2 separate regions of the Homo sapiens genome follow, and region 2 is linked to region 1. The links are contacts of gene promoters, found by promoter capture Hi-C in human tissues and cell types (Jung and others, 2019). All regions are on one chromosome and are shown on one strand. The core of a region is centred on a gene start or on the middle of the fragment in contact, and the rest is flanking DNA. Distances in the headings are between cores, read along the strand shown.

The links. The method cuts DNA at HindIII sites, captures the fragments that hold promoters and counts their contacts. A contact is called where the count stands out against the background at its distance.
Region 2: a contact is called between a fragment that was not itself captured here and the fragment with the promoter of CST2 in region 1, in 1 of the 25 tissues and cell types used here (thymus).

The regions. Positions count from the first base shown.
Region 1 is chr20:23,825,479-23,831,436 of GRCh38, forward strand. It overlaps CST2 (cystatin SA), which reads right to left and starts at 1,251. Exons shown (of 3, transcript NM_001322.3): 1 at 955-1,251. The coding sequence starts at 1,182. The HindIII fragment of the contact is 9,318 bases long and covers 1-3,727 here.
Region 2 is chr20:23,777,711-23,784,351 of GRCh38, forward strand. No RefSeq gene overlaps it. Among named protein-coding and RNA genes, the nearest start is that of CST1, 30 kb to the left of the region's middle. The HindIII fragment of the contact is 9,889 bases long and covers 1-6,641 here.

The DNA of each region.
Region 1 (5,958 bases), core at 1-2,500:
CTGGCAGGGTGCTGGGCCTCATGCCCCCTCTTAAATATTGTTTTCTCTGTGCTGGGTAAAAGGATTCATTGAATTCTGCCACCTGTGGCTCAGGGGCAAGGGAACACTGACTCTTTTTACCCATGGGTGTCAGTTTACCCATGTATAAAATAGGCGTCCGGGCCTGATGGTCTGCAATGCCCTGTGCTTCACTCCAAGTTATTGTCATGCTTGAAAGGGAGGTGGAGGCAAGCGGGGACCATGGCACCAGGGAGTGCACCTCCCGTGCAGGGTGAGGGTCCCAGTTGACAGCTGCAGGAGGAGAAATGGGGCTGGTCTGGATTCCTTTGAATTTCCAAGAGAAGGTGGAGGAGCTCTAAAGCCTGTGTCACTATTTGCTGCTCTGCCATGGGATGCAGGTAAAGCTGGGCCCAATAGCCCTTCTGAAGCTCTCTCTTGACCTGACACCTCCTCCTCTCTACTGGGTAACTGCTGTCCTCATCTGGCTGAGGTCTAACTCTGCATCAACTCATAGAGGCAGGGTCAGGCGTGCTCCACCCCAGCAGGGACTCAGCTGCCCTGGGCTGTAGGGGGTGGTCAGCCGGCCTGAGGGTGAAGGCCATTAGCCCTAAAGGGCTGTACCCACGGGTGTGACTTGGGGAGTGAAGTAGGGCTCTGCAGAACAGGAAGCGAAGTTCCTGTGTGGCCCCTGAGGAGAGGACTCAGGGAGGAGGGTGAGCCTCATGGCCTGGATCTCATCCTGAGCAGCATCAAGCCCATCCAGAGTCAGCATAGTCTCCATCCCCCGGGAGCATGCTTAGGCATGAAGGCCATAAGCAGAGAGTCAGGGAAAGCTGAATGAATCTGAGCATTAGATCATGAATGTATCAGTGTTGATGTGCTGCGAATGCTCTTATGGATCGGGCAACAAACAAGGCTGGGACTCAGGACCCCTCAGGTGGAGGCAGCACCCACCTGCTCCCTGGCTCGTAGCACCCGCAGCAGGCGTCTGTAGTACTCATCTTCAGTGGCCTTGTTATACTCGCTGATGACAAAGTGAAGGGCACGCTGTACCCGCTCATCATTGAGGTCTGCATCATAGATGCCACCCTCGATTATCCTGTCCTCCTCCTGGGGGCTCCAGGCCAGGGCCACAGCCTGGGTGGCCAGCAGGAGCAGCAGGGTGCACAGGGGCCAGGCCATGGTCTCCTCGGAGGCAGAGCACAGAGCTGGAGCTGCAGGAGAGGAGGTTGAGAGCCTGAGGCGGGGATCCCAGACCAGCAGGCAGCTGTGCATTTATCCTGCTTTGGCAGCTCAGCCCCACCCCCCTCCATGACCTGCCCCTGACTCCTCCTCCTCTTTCTGCTCATTCCCTCTTTCTCCATCTCTCTTTTCACTCCTCAGAAACCACAAGATCCCTCCCTGCCTAAGTTCTCCCTGCCCCTCCCAGGCCTCCTCCTCTATCTACCCCTCCTCCCCACTCCTGTCCTCACTGCAGCCTCCCCGAGCCATGCCTCTCTTCCCCAGTGCTCCCAAGCTTGAGTCACCAGGTCTCCACAGAGATGACACTTCTCCTTTGGCTATGAAAACAATGTGACCTCCTGTTTGCTCAGAAAAGTGAAAAATACAGGGCTTGGCCTCCGGGGTCTTCAGATATCAGAGGCATCCAGGAGCACTTGGTCACGGTCTCTGAATCTCTGGAACAGGGAGGTTATTTCAGAAGGTTCCAGAAGACCCTGTCCACACCCTATTATGGAGAATTTCTTTGCCAAATTCAAGGGAATTAACCTTTTTTGAAAAGGTCACTGGGTTCTCTTTTCATAACTCATTATTCAATAAAAAAACTTATCACCAGCTACTCCCCGTGCCAGGAGGTCTAGGGCTTGAATACTGAACCTGGATGATGAGCCATAGAGGTGACATTGCAGAGCTGCTGCCCACAGAGATGTGACATGAACCCACGAGCATATGAAAATGTGTAGTAGATGCATTTTAAAAGATGAGAAAAAATGGGTGAAAGTAATGTTTAAAATATTTATCTAACCTAATACAGCCACAATATTATTTCAGCTAATAGGAACTATTATTAATGAGATTTTTTTTTTGTTGGAGGGGTTTTGTAAATCTTTGAAATTCGCTGTGTATTTTTTACACTTAGCCTGGGAGTCATTTTGGACTGGCCCCATTTCAAGTGTCCCGTGGCACATGTGGCAGGTGGCTATGAAACTGTACAGTCCGTTCCTACACAGTGTGTGTAGGGGATGATAGGTTATGGTCAACAATTAGGATCAGGGAGTTATACTCACTCTGTTGGAAGTGAAATAGAACAGGGGCTAGAGAGAGACCACTGGACCCTGGTCAGGGTGGTCTCTATGAGACTGGAGAGGTTGAGAAGCCCCAGGCATTGGGGAACAGCCAGTGCAAAGGCCCTGAGGTGGGATTGGGACATGCCTGCTCCAGGAAGAGGAAGCTCCTGGAGGGGATGTGAGCAGGGAAGGGAATGACCTGGTGTCTCATGGTAACTGTGGGTGGGGCCCACAAGGTGCAGGGAGACACCTGGCAGGCAGTGGGGGTGTCAGAAGAGGGAGCAGAAGCCAAGGGATGAATGTGGGAGCCCACAGGCCTCACTTGCTTCTCTCCTAGGCAGCCATGCTTCCAGCTTCTTTCCTCTATGCACTGCTTGGAAGACCCACCTGATATTTTAAAAATTGCCTTGAAGGAGGTAGAATTTACATACAGTAAGATGCCTAATAGTATGTGCCCACCTGGAAGATTTTGTAAATACATACACCTGTATTACCACTTTGTCCAGACCTCTGACATCTGCCTTGCCCCAGACGGTGTCCTCCTGCCTCTGCAGCTCATCCTCGTGCCCACCCCACCCTGGCAGCCCCTGTCCAGTCCTGTAGACTCCTTTGTCACCTGCCCTTGAGATTCCCAGGAATGGAATCCTGCAGAGCAATCCCAGATGTGTCTTCGTCCTTTGCTCAGCGTGGCTTTCCAGTGGCCCCCAAGTTGCTTCATTGCCAGGATTGGGAGTTCTCCTTCTCCACAGACTGAGAGGACCTAATCACCACAGTGCTCTGTGGGGTGACAAAGTCTCCAGCTTGGGATGCTGTGGGCCTGTGCTGGAATGTGGCTCCAGGATTGGGGAGGATGGAAGGAGGCCCTGAACAGACAGCTGCTCCCTTTGTTCTCTCAACCCAACCCTCCATGCCTGAAGGTGACCCTGTGGCAAATGCCCTTGTGGTGAGGTGGAAGGCTTGGTGAGAAACACCAGGAAACCCTGGGCCTTTGCATGGCATCCAGAGGACTCTCCTGGGAGTAGTGGAGGTGAGGGTCAGACAGAGTCAACCCAGAGCTGCTGGGATCCTGGGTCTCAGCCGTGGCTGGGGCTGCATCAGCAGGACCCGGCAGCAGGAACAATATTACTCATTGGTGTTCATGTTCAGTATTAGGACAGGGGACCTTGTTATCCAAGGCCCAGTGACCATTGCACACCACTGTCAATCCAGCACACCTAGAAAAACCATGCATCCCAGCAGATACAGCAGGTGTCCCAGGGATGGTGTTTACCGCTGGGTGATGGAGGGAAGGTCTTCAAACAGGGCTGCGCAGGATGGCTCCTAGTTAGACAGGGAATGGGGATAAATTCCCAGAGAAGGGAGAGAGAGGGAAGTCCCTTACCAGGTGTTTGTGAGCAGAGTGGTCATCTCCAAAGGGTAGGACTTAGTTCTCCTCTGTGGCTCCCACCTTCCTGGGATAGCTGGGAGTCCAGACTCAGGAAGAGCTGCTGTGCAGAGGATAAGCTGAAGGTCAAGAAATCCTCTCATTTTTTTTTATCACTGGAAAGGAGATGCAGGTTGAAGGGGTGGCCTGCCCCTCCACACCTGTGGGTATTTCTAGTCAGGTGGGATGAGAGGCTGAGAAAAGAAATAAGACACAGAGACAAAGTATAGAGAAACAACAGTGGGCCCAGGGGACCGGCGCTCAGCATACCAAGGACCTGCACCGGCACCGGTCTGAGTTCCCTCAGTTTTTATTGATTATTATCTTCATTATTTCACCAAAAAGGAACATAGCAGGAGGGCAGGGTGATAATAAGGAGAAGGTCAGCAACAAACATGTGAGCAATAGAATCTACGTCATAATTAAGTTCAAGGGAAGGTACTATGACTGGACATGCACGTAAGCCAGATTTATGTTTCTCTCCACCCAAACATCTCAGTGGAGTAAAGAATTACAAGGCAGTATTGCTGCAAACATGTCTCGCCTCCCACCATAGGGCAGTTTTTCTCTCATCTCAGAATTGAACAAATGTACAATCGGGTTTCATACTGAGACATACAGTTCCCAGGGGCAGGCAGGAGATAGTGGCCTTCCTCTATCTCAACTGCAAGAGGCTTTCCTCTTTTACTAATCCACCTCAGCACAGACCCTTTACAGGTGTCGGGCTGGGGGACAGTCAGGTCTTTCTCATCCCACCAGGCCATATTTCAGACTATCACATGGGGAGAAACCGTGGACAATACCCTGCTTTCAAGGGCAGAGGTCCCTGCAGCCTTCCGCAGTGCATTGTGCCCCTGGTTTATTGAGACTAGAGAATGACGACGGCCTTTATCAAGTATACTGCTTGTAAACATTTTGTTAACAAGGCACATCCTGCACAGCCCTAGATCCCTTAAACCTTGATTTTATACAACACATGTTTTTGTGAGCTCCTGGTTGGGTCAAAGTGCCTGGGGCAAAGCTACAAAATTAAGAACATCTCAGCAAAGCAATTATTTAAAGTACAGGTCTTTTACAAAATGGAGTCTCTTATGTCTTCCATTTCTACATAGACACAGTAACAGTCTGATCTCTCTTTCTTTTCCCAAACAGGTAACCCAAATAGTGAGAATTTGCTGGTGGGTGGAGTGTGAGGGAGGGAGGCCAAAGTGCTGATCTGTGCCGTGTATGTGATGACACCACCAGTGGTCATCTTGTGTCAGGATGCTGGCATGCACTGCAGGGAGGGTCAGCTGTCCTGATGCAGCAACCTCTCTAATCTCAGTAGGAAAGATACCAATGTATGTTGCTTTTCTGAGGAGGTACAAGTGCGATGTCCAGTATGGAGTGATAGGAAGTGGCAGGTGGGGGTAGCTGGCCAGCTGCTCCAGATGTTTGATGACCTTAGGCAAATGTTGTGTCTGTTGTGCGTGTGGAGAAAGAGGCTACTTTTTAAAGCGTATTGTCTGGGAGTTCAGACCAGCAGAGATGAGCAGACTTTACCAGTGATGTAGCAACATGTTTGAAAATGATGGAATAGCCAGGTGAGGTGGTGCACCTGTAATCCTAGCTAATTAGGAGAGTGAGTCAGGAAGATTCCTTGAATCCAGGAGTTCAATTCCAGCCTGTGAAACACAGTGAAACCCCCATCTCAAAAAAAATGACAGAACATTTTGTTCCCTGATTTCTATAGTCCACAGTTTTAAGGACACACTAGGAGGGGGCCAGATAGCAACCATGGACTGAGGAACAAGCCTGGGGCCTCCAGCACCCATGTAACCTGGAGGAGTCTAGCTGCCCAGGAGGGGGCAAGTTTTCCTTCTGCTAGGTGATGAAAGAGAAAGCTCTGTTCCCCTAGGCTGCATGGGTGACTACTGATCCTATTATCTGAATTAGCAGGATGAGAAGTTAGGTGAGTGGTAGAAGTTCTCTGCAATAAATGATGAATAATAAGTGAACACTAAGCAATACTACAATAAACAAATGACCAAACACAGAAAGCATCACCTACAGGTGCAGGTGGTGAGGACAACCTGGCCAAGAGTTGAGATTCTGCACATCTGGGTTTTGAGCAACTAACACTTTGATCTATGGTAGGAGCTGAGACTGAACAGCCACAGGATTTGGTGGCTTCTCAAATGGGAAGCCCAGAAGCCCCTTTTACGGAGTGCCTGGAATTCTCTGGGGTCAAGCTTGTCTCTTTCACACTCT
Region 2 (6,641 bases), core at 1,297-3,796, 46 kb before region 1:
AGAATTTACATACAATAAAACGCCTAATTATGTATGTGTAACCTGGGGGATTTGTTTATTTTTATGGATTTTGGGGTACAGATGTAGTTGCGTTATGTGGATATATTGCATAGAGGTGAAATCTGGGCTTTTAGGGTACCCATTACCAGATAATGTACGTTATATCCACTAGGTGATATTTCACATTCACCACCATCCCACTCTCCCACCTTTGAGCCTCCACTGTCTATCATTCCACTCTGCATGTCCGTGAGTACCCATTGTTTAGCTCCCACTTAACAAGTGAGAGCATGCAGTTTTTGATTTTCAGTTTGAATCACTTCAATAAGGATAACGGCCTCCAGTTCCATATCCGTTGCTGCAAAAAAACATAATTTCATTCATTTTTGTGGCTGAGTATTACTCCATGGGGTGTGTGTGTGTGTGCATATATATATATATATATATACACACATATACACACGTATACATATATACATATATATGTATACGTGTGAGTATATATATATATATATATATGTAGTATTCATACACACACAAACCACCTTGTTTTATCCAACTGTCCATCTGTCCATTGATACCATGACTTTTCTATGTGAAAAGTGCTGCAAGAAACATACAAGTGCAGGTGTCATTTTTACATAATGATTTCTTTTTAGAGGGTACCTATCCAGTAATGGAACTGCTGGATCACAGGGCAGTTCTGCTTTTAGTTGTTTGAGAAATCATCAGTTTTCTATAGAGGTTGCACTAATGTACACTTCCACCAACAGTGCATAATTTTTTTCTTTTCCCCACATCTTCTCCAATGTCTGTTGTTTTTTGACTTTCTTTTGAGACAGGATCTCACACTCTTACCTGGGCAGAAAGGCAGTGGCACGATCATACCTAACTATAGCCTCAAACTCCTGAGCTCAAATGATCCACCTGCCTCAGCCTCCTGAGTAGCTAGTACTACAGGCCCATGGCAAGACATTTTTATTTTTTGTAGAGACAGGGTTTCACTATTTTGTCCAGGCTGGTCTTGAAATCCTGGCCCCAAGCAATCCTCCCATTTTGGTCTCTCAAAGTGCTGTGATTATAGACATGAACCACTGCACTCTGCTGTCTTTTGACATTTAAAAACAGCCTTTCTCCCTGGTGTACAATGATATTTCATTGTGGTTTCAATTTGCATTTCTCAGATATTTAGTCATGTTGAGCATTTTTTCACAAGCATGTTTGCCACTTGTATGTCTTCTTTTGAAAAATATCTGTTTATATGCTATGCCCACTTTTAAAAATTTTACTTTAAGTTCTGGAATACATGTGCAGAATGTGCAGGTTTGTTACATAGGTGTACATGTGCCATGGTGGTTTGCTGCACCTATCAACCTGTCATCTAGGTTTTAAGCCCCACATGCATTAGGTGTTTGTCTTAATGCTTTCCCTCCACTTGTCCCCCAGTCTCTGACAGGCCCCGATATGTGATTTTCCCCTCCCTGTGTCCATGTGTTCTCACTGGTCAACTGCCACTTATGAGTGAGAACATGTGGTGTTTGTTTTTCTGTTCCTGTGTTAGTTTGCTGAGAATGATGGTTTCCAGCTTAATCTATGTCCCTGCAAAGGACATGAATGCATTCTCTTCTATGGCTGCATAGTGTATGTGCCACATTTTCTTTATCCAGTCTATCACTGATGGGCATTTGGGTTCCAAGTCTTTGCTATCGTAAATAGTGTTGCAATAAACATATGTGTGCATGTGTCTTTGTAGTAGAATGGTTTATAATCCTTTGGATATATACCCAGTAATGGGATTGCTGGGTCAAATGGCATTTCTGGTTTTAGATCCTTGAGGAATCACCACACTGTCTTCCACAATGGTTGAAGTAATTTACATTCCCACCAACAGTGTAAAAGCCTTCCTATTTCTCCACAGCCTCGCCAGCATCTGTTGTTTCCTGACTTATTAATGATTGCCATTCTAATTGGCATGAGATGGTATCTCATTGTGGTTTTGATTTGCATTTCTCTAATGACCAATGATGATGAGCTTTTTTTCATGTGTTTATTGGTTGCATAAATGTCTTGAGACGTGTCTCTTCATATCCTTTGTGCACTTTTTGTGCAAAGGTCTGGATATTAGACCTTTGTCAGATGGATAGATTGCAAAAATGTTCTCCCTTTCTGTAGGTTGCCTGTTTACTCCAATGATAGTTTCTTTTGGTGTGCAGAAGCTCTTTAGTTTAAATAGATCCCATTTGTCAATTTTGACTTTTGTTGCAATTCCTTTTGATATTTTAGTCATGAAGTTTTTGCCCATGCCTATGTCCTCAATGCTATTGCCTAGGTTTTCTTCTAGGGTTTTTATGGTTTTAGGTGTTACATTTAAGTCTTTAATCCATCTTGAGTTAATTTTTGTATAAGATATAAGGAAGGGGCCCAGTTTCTGTTTTCTGCATATGGCTAACCGGTTTTCCCAGCACCATTTATTAAATAGGGAATCCTTTCCCATTGCTTGTTTTTGTCAGATTTGTCAAAGATCAGATGGTTGTAGATGTTTGATGTTATTTCTGAGGCCTCTGTTCTGTTCCCTTGGTCTATATCTCTGTTTTGGTACCAGTACCATGCTGTTTTAGTTACTGCAGCCTTGTAGTGTAGTTTGAAGTCAGGTAGCATGATGTCTGCAGCTTTGTTCTTTTTGCTTAGTATTAGCTTGGCTATATGGGATCTTTTTTTGATTTCATATGAAATTTAAAGTAGTTTTTTTTTGTAATTCTGCAAAGAAAATCAATATGATAGCTTGATGGGAATAGCATTGAATCTATAAATTACTTTGGGCAGTATGGCCATTTTCATGATATTGATCCTTCCTATTCATGAGAATGAATTTTTTTCCATTTGTTTGTGTCCTGCCTTATTTCCTTGAGCAGCTGTTTGTAGTTCTCCTTGAAGAGGTCCTTTGCTTGCCTTGTAAATTGTATTCCTAGGCATTCTATGCCCACTTTTTTTGAGATGGAGTCTCACTCTGTTGCCCAGGCTGGAGTGCAATGGCATGATCTTGGCTCACTGCAGCCTCCACCTCCTGGGTTCAAGTGATTCTCCTGCCTCAGCCTCCCGAGTAGCTGGGATTACAGGCACGTGCCATGAGGCCTGGCTAATTTTTGTATTTTTTTTTTTTTTAGTAGAGACGGAGTTTCACCATTTTGGTCAAGCTGGTCTCAAACTTTTGACCTCGTCATCTGCCCGCCTCGGCCTCTCAAAGTGTTGGGAGGGCCCCTGCCTTCCCAGCACATGCCTCAGTGAGCCTCTTGCCTGTGAATCTCCATCTGAGTTGGTTCCCAGGAACCCTAACCAAGAGATGGTGGAGTCAGGACCCACACCACAAATATCTTGCCTTTTAACCACAGTGGGTGTTAGGTTTGTGAAAGTTTGGAAAATTTTTGTCTAGGAGATTGGATATCTCCCTTCAATAGATGATCTCAATGTTCTCACACCCATGAGACCTGCTGAAGAAAACCAATGCTTCATCTGGAAAGTTCCTTGTTCCCAAAAATCGCTTACTCAGCTGGGTCTTTTTTCCCCCTCTTCATCCCTAGTGAAATGCAAACCAAAGTATCCATCTGTATTGGACTTGGTGAAATATTTTCACTCATATAATTTCATTTGATCTAGCTGTTGAGGAAGGTTGGGCAGGTACCAGAAACCCTTTTTACTCTTAAGAAAATAAGTAGGAGGTAGGTTGAGGATAAGATGTCAGGTCATGTAATTTTCAGCTTAATTATGTTCTTGTCACACAGTAAGCTTCATTTGCCACCCTGGCTCTGGGACTGACACTAAGTGATGTGTCAGCTCCATCACTCCTAGGAGCGTCCTGGCCGCAGGTAGCAGGAGTCCTGAGAAACACTTGCCGCCTCTCCCACGATGACACTTGTTATTTAACAAAGGCTGTGGGAATGGTGTTCACAGAGTTGCAGCATCCTCAGCAGGGGCCCAGGTGGTTTCCTTCCATCTTCTCCATCATTCCTTGGGCTTTTGTTCTTGGGCACACAGTTCATGAGTGAAAGGTGGACACCATAGCCCTAGACATCCTGTCCCACACTACAGCCTGAAAGGTGAGGAGTAGGAGCAGGCGGAGGTCACAGGGCGTGAGAGGAGGGTTGAGGGAGAGAGAGAGAAAGAGACAGAGAGATAGAGGTAGAGAGAGAGAAAGAGAGAAAGAGAGAGAGAGAACTCTCCTCAGGGGGCTTTTCTCTGTTTATCCAGCAGATACTCTCTTAGTAGCAACCCGGCCGAGTGCTTAGCAGTTGCTGGCTGGACCTGAGCTCCATTTCCCCAGGGGTGAGGAAGGCTTGGAAGTCCATTGCCTGATACTTTCACTGTTTGCACTCAGGGGCAGGCAAGAGGAAAGGAACTGACAATGGCTGGTCTCCAGAACAAAGTCACTTATATGAGTGTTCATCGAGAGCTTGTAGAAACTCCATTGTACTCTGAAGTTTATGAATGTGTTTATGCACAGGTGTGCATGCCATTTGGGGTGTCTGAGAAGGATGCCTGAGCTGTGTCAGAGTTGGCAGGAATGGTGGGCTTTGGGGCCCTAAGATATGGAGAGTATCCAATGGGAACTAAGTGGGAAGAGGCTTGCAGAGTTGGCAACCTCCTCACCCCATGATAAAGGAGGGGATGATATGCTGAAACATCACATGTGAAGATGAACACATCACAAGGAAAATGCTCAAATGTGGCAGATAAACCACAAAGCCACAGGGCAATTCCTGTGCCTGCAGCCACCTGCCCTGTAAATCCTTCTCAGTTCATGAGTTTGCAGAGAACCTCTAGGTTCTGCATGCTCCACTTCACCACAGTGACCACCAGAGGGAAGCACTCACCCATGGATGACCAGCCCTTTGGGTGCCTCTACTCCAGCCTCACCCTGCGGAGCAGGCTCTGAAGGTAACCCTGGGGTTGTCATAGCATCTGCCTTGGAGAAAGGAGTTTTGTAAACTAAGCATTCCCTGAGTGCCGTACGGGTTCTGCAGAGGCCCGTCTGCTTGGCTCTGTCCTCGCTGCCCTGGGCTACCTGGGCTACCTGGGCATGTGGGGTTTTATTGATCAGAGCGATGACCAGTAGATGGCACAGTCTTCTGTTCCTGTAGCTCTCCCCAGGGCCCTTGCTGGATATTTCCAGGAAGGAGAGACAGGCCCAGAGCTGACTCTCTCAGAAGACAGGGACCTTCTGAAGGCAGGTGACAATGAACGTGTGGACACCCCGTGGACAAGTCTGGTTTCTATCCTCTCTTCCACTCTCTTCCTCCTCACCCCTTTCCTGGTGCTCCCTCTCTTACTTCCTGCCCCTTTCTAAAACTACCCATCTCCTTCTTTTTCATGGTCAACTTAGTCAGTCGGAGGCATGAATACCATGGAAAAACCACGTTTGCTGCTGTGGTTAAGAAGAACACATGATCCATTACTGAAAAACGGTTTCCCATGCAAGGCGAGGTGTCTGAAGACCAGATTCACCTGAGTCCAGATCTGATGAGCCTGCAAACAGAGGAAAACCTTAACGATAGCTGCTCTGCCTTCGTGCTTATATTCTGCACCAAAGAGCTTTATCTTTTCACATCAAATATCATATCACCACCATCGCCACTATATCATCAATATCACCATAATCTTCACAACTATTGCCACTTCCATAACCACCATCACTATCACCAGCATCACCACCACCATCCCCACAATCATCACTACCACCATCACCATTATCTTTAACACTATCACCATCAATACCACTCCCATGATCACTATCATCATCACCAGCATCATCACCATCACCATCATCATCACCATCACCATAACCTCAACATCATGGTCATCACCATCATCACCACCATCATCATAATCATCACTACCATCACCATCACTATTATCATCACCGTCACCATTACTGCCACCACCAAGACCATCACCATCAACACCAGTACCACCATAATACCCACCATCACTACCATCATTACCACCAACACTATTATCAACATCATCACTATCATCACCACCACCATCATTATCAATACCACCATCTCTGCCATCATCACCATCACCACCACCACTATTACTACCATCACTATTACCAACTTCACCACTATTACCATCACCACTACTATTACTACAAGAGCTACCATCATCACCACCATTATAACCACCACCACCACCACCAACATCATCACTATTATCACAATCACCATCACCATTAACAATACCAGCATTACTGCTGTCATCAACATCACCATCTCCATTACCACCATCACCATCAGTATACTCATCATCATTATACACATCATGAGCACCACTATCATCATCAACACCATCACCATCATTACCATTACCAGCATTACCACCATACCATCATCATCATCTTCAAAACCACCACCACCATCACCATTTTCATCCCCAGCATATCATTCTCATCACCATCATCATCTTCAGCACCACTGCCAGGTGTCTGTCAGCAGCTGTTCTGCATTGGACATTGTGCCACACCCTTTATAAACCTCATGTGATTACATAGTCATGCTGATTCTGTATTTTATAGAAAAAAATAAGGTGGTAATTGGCTTTGAAACATGATAGAAGAGTGTGAGAACCTGCTTTTTCTTCTCAGA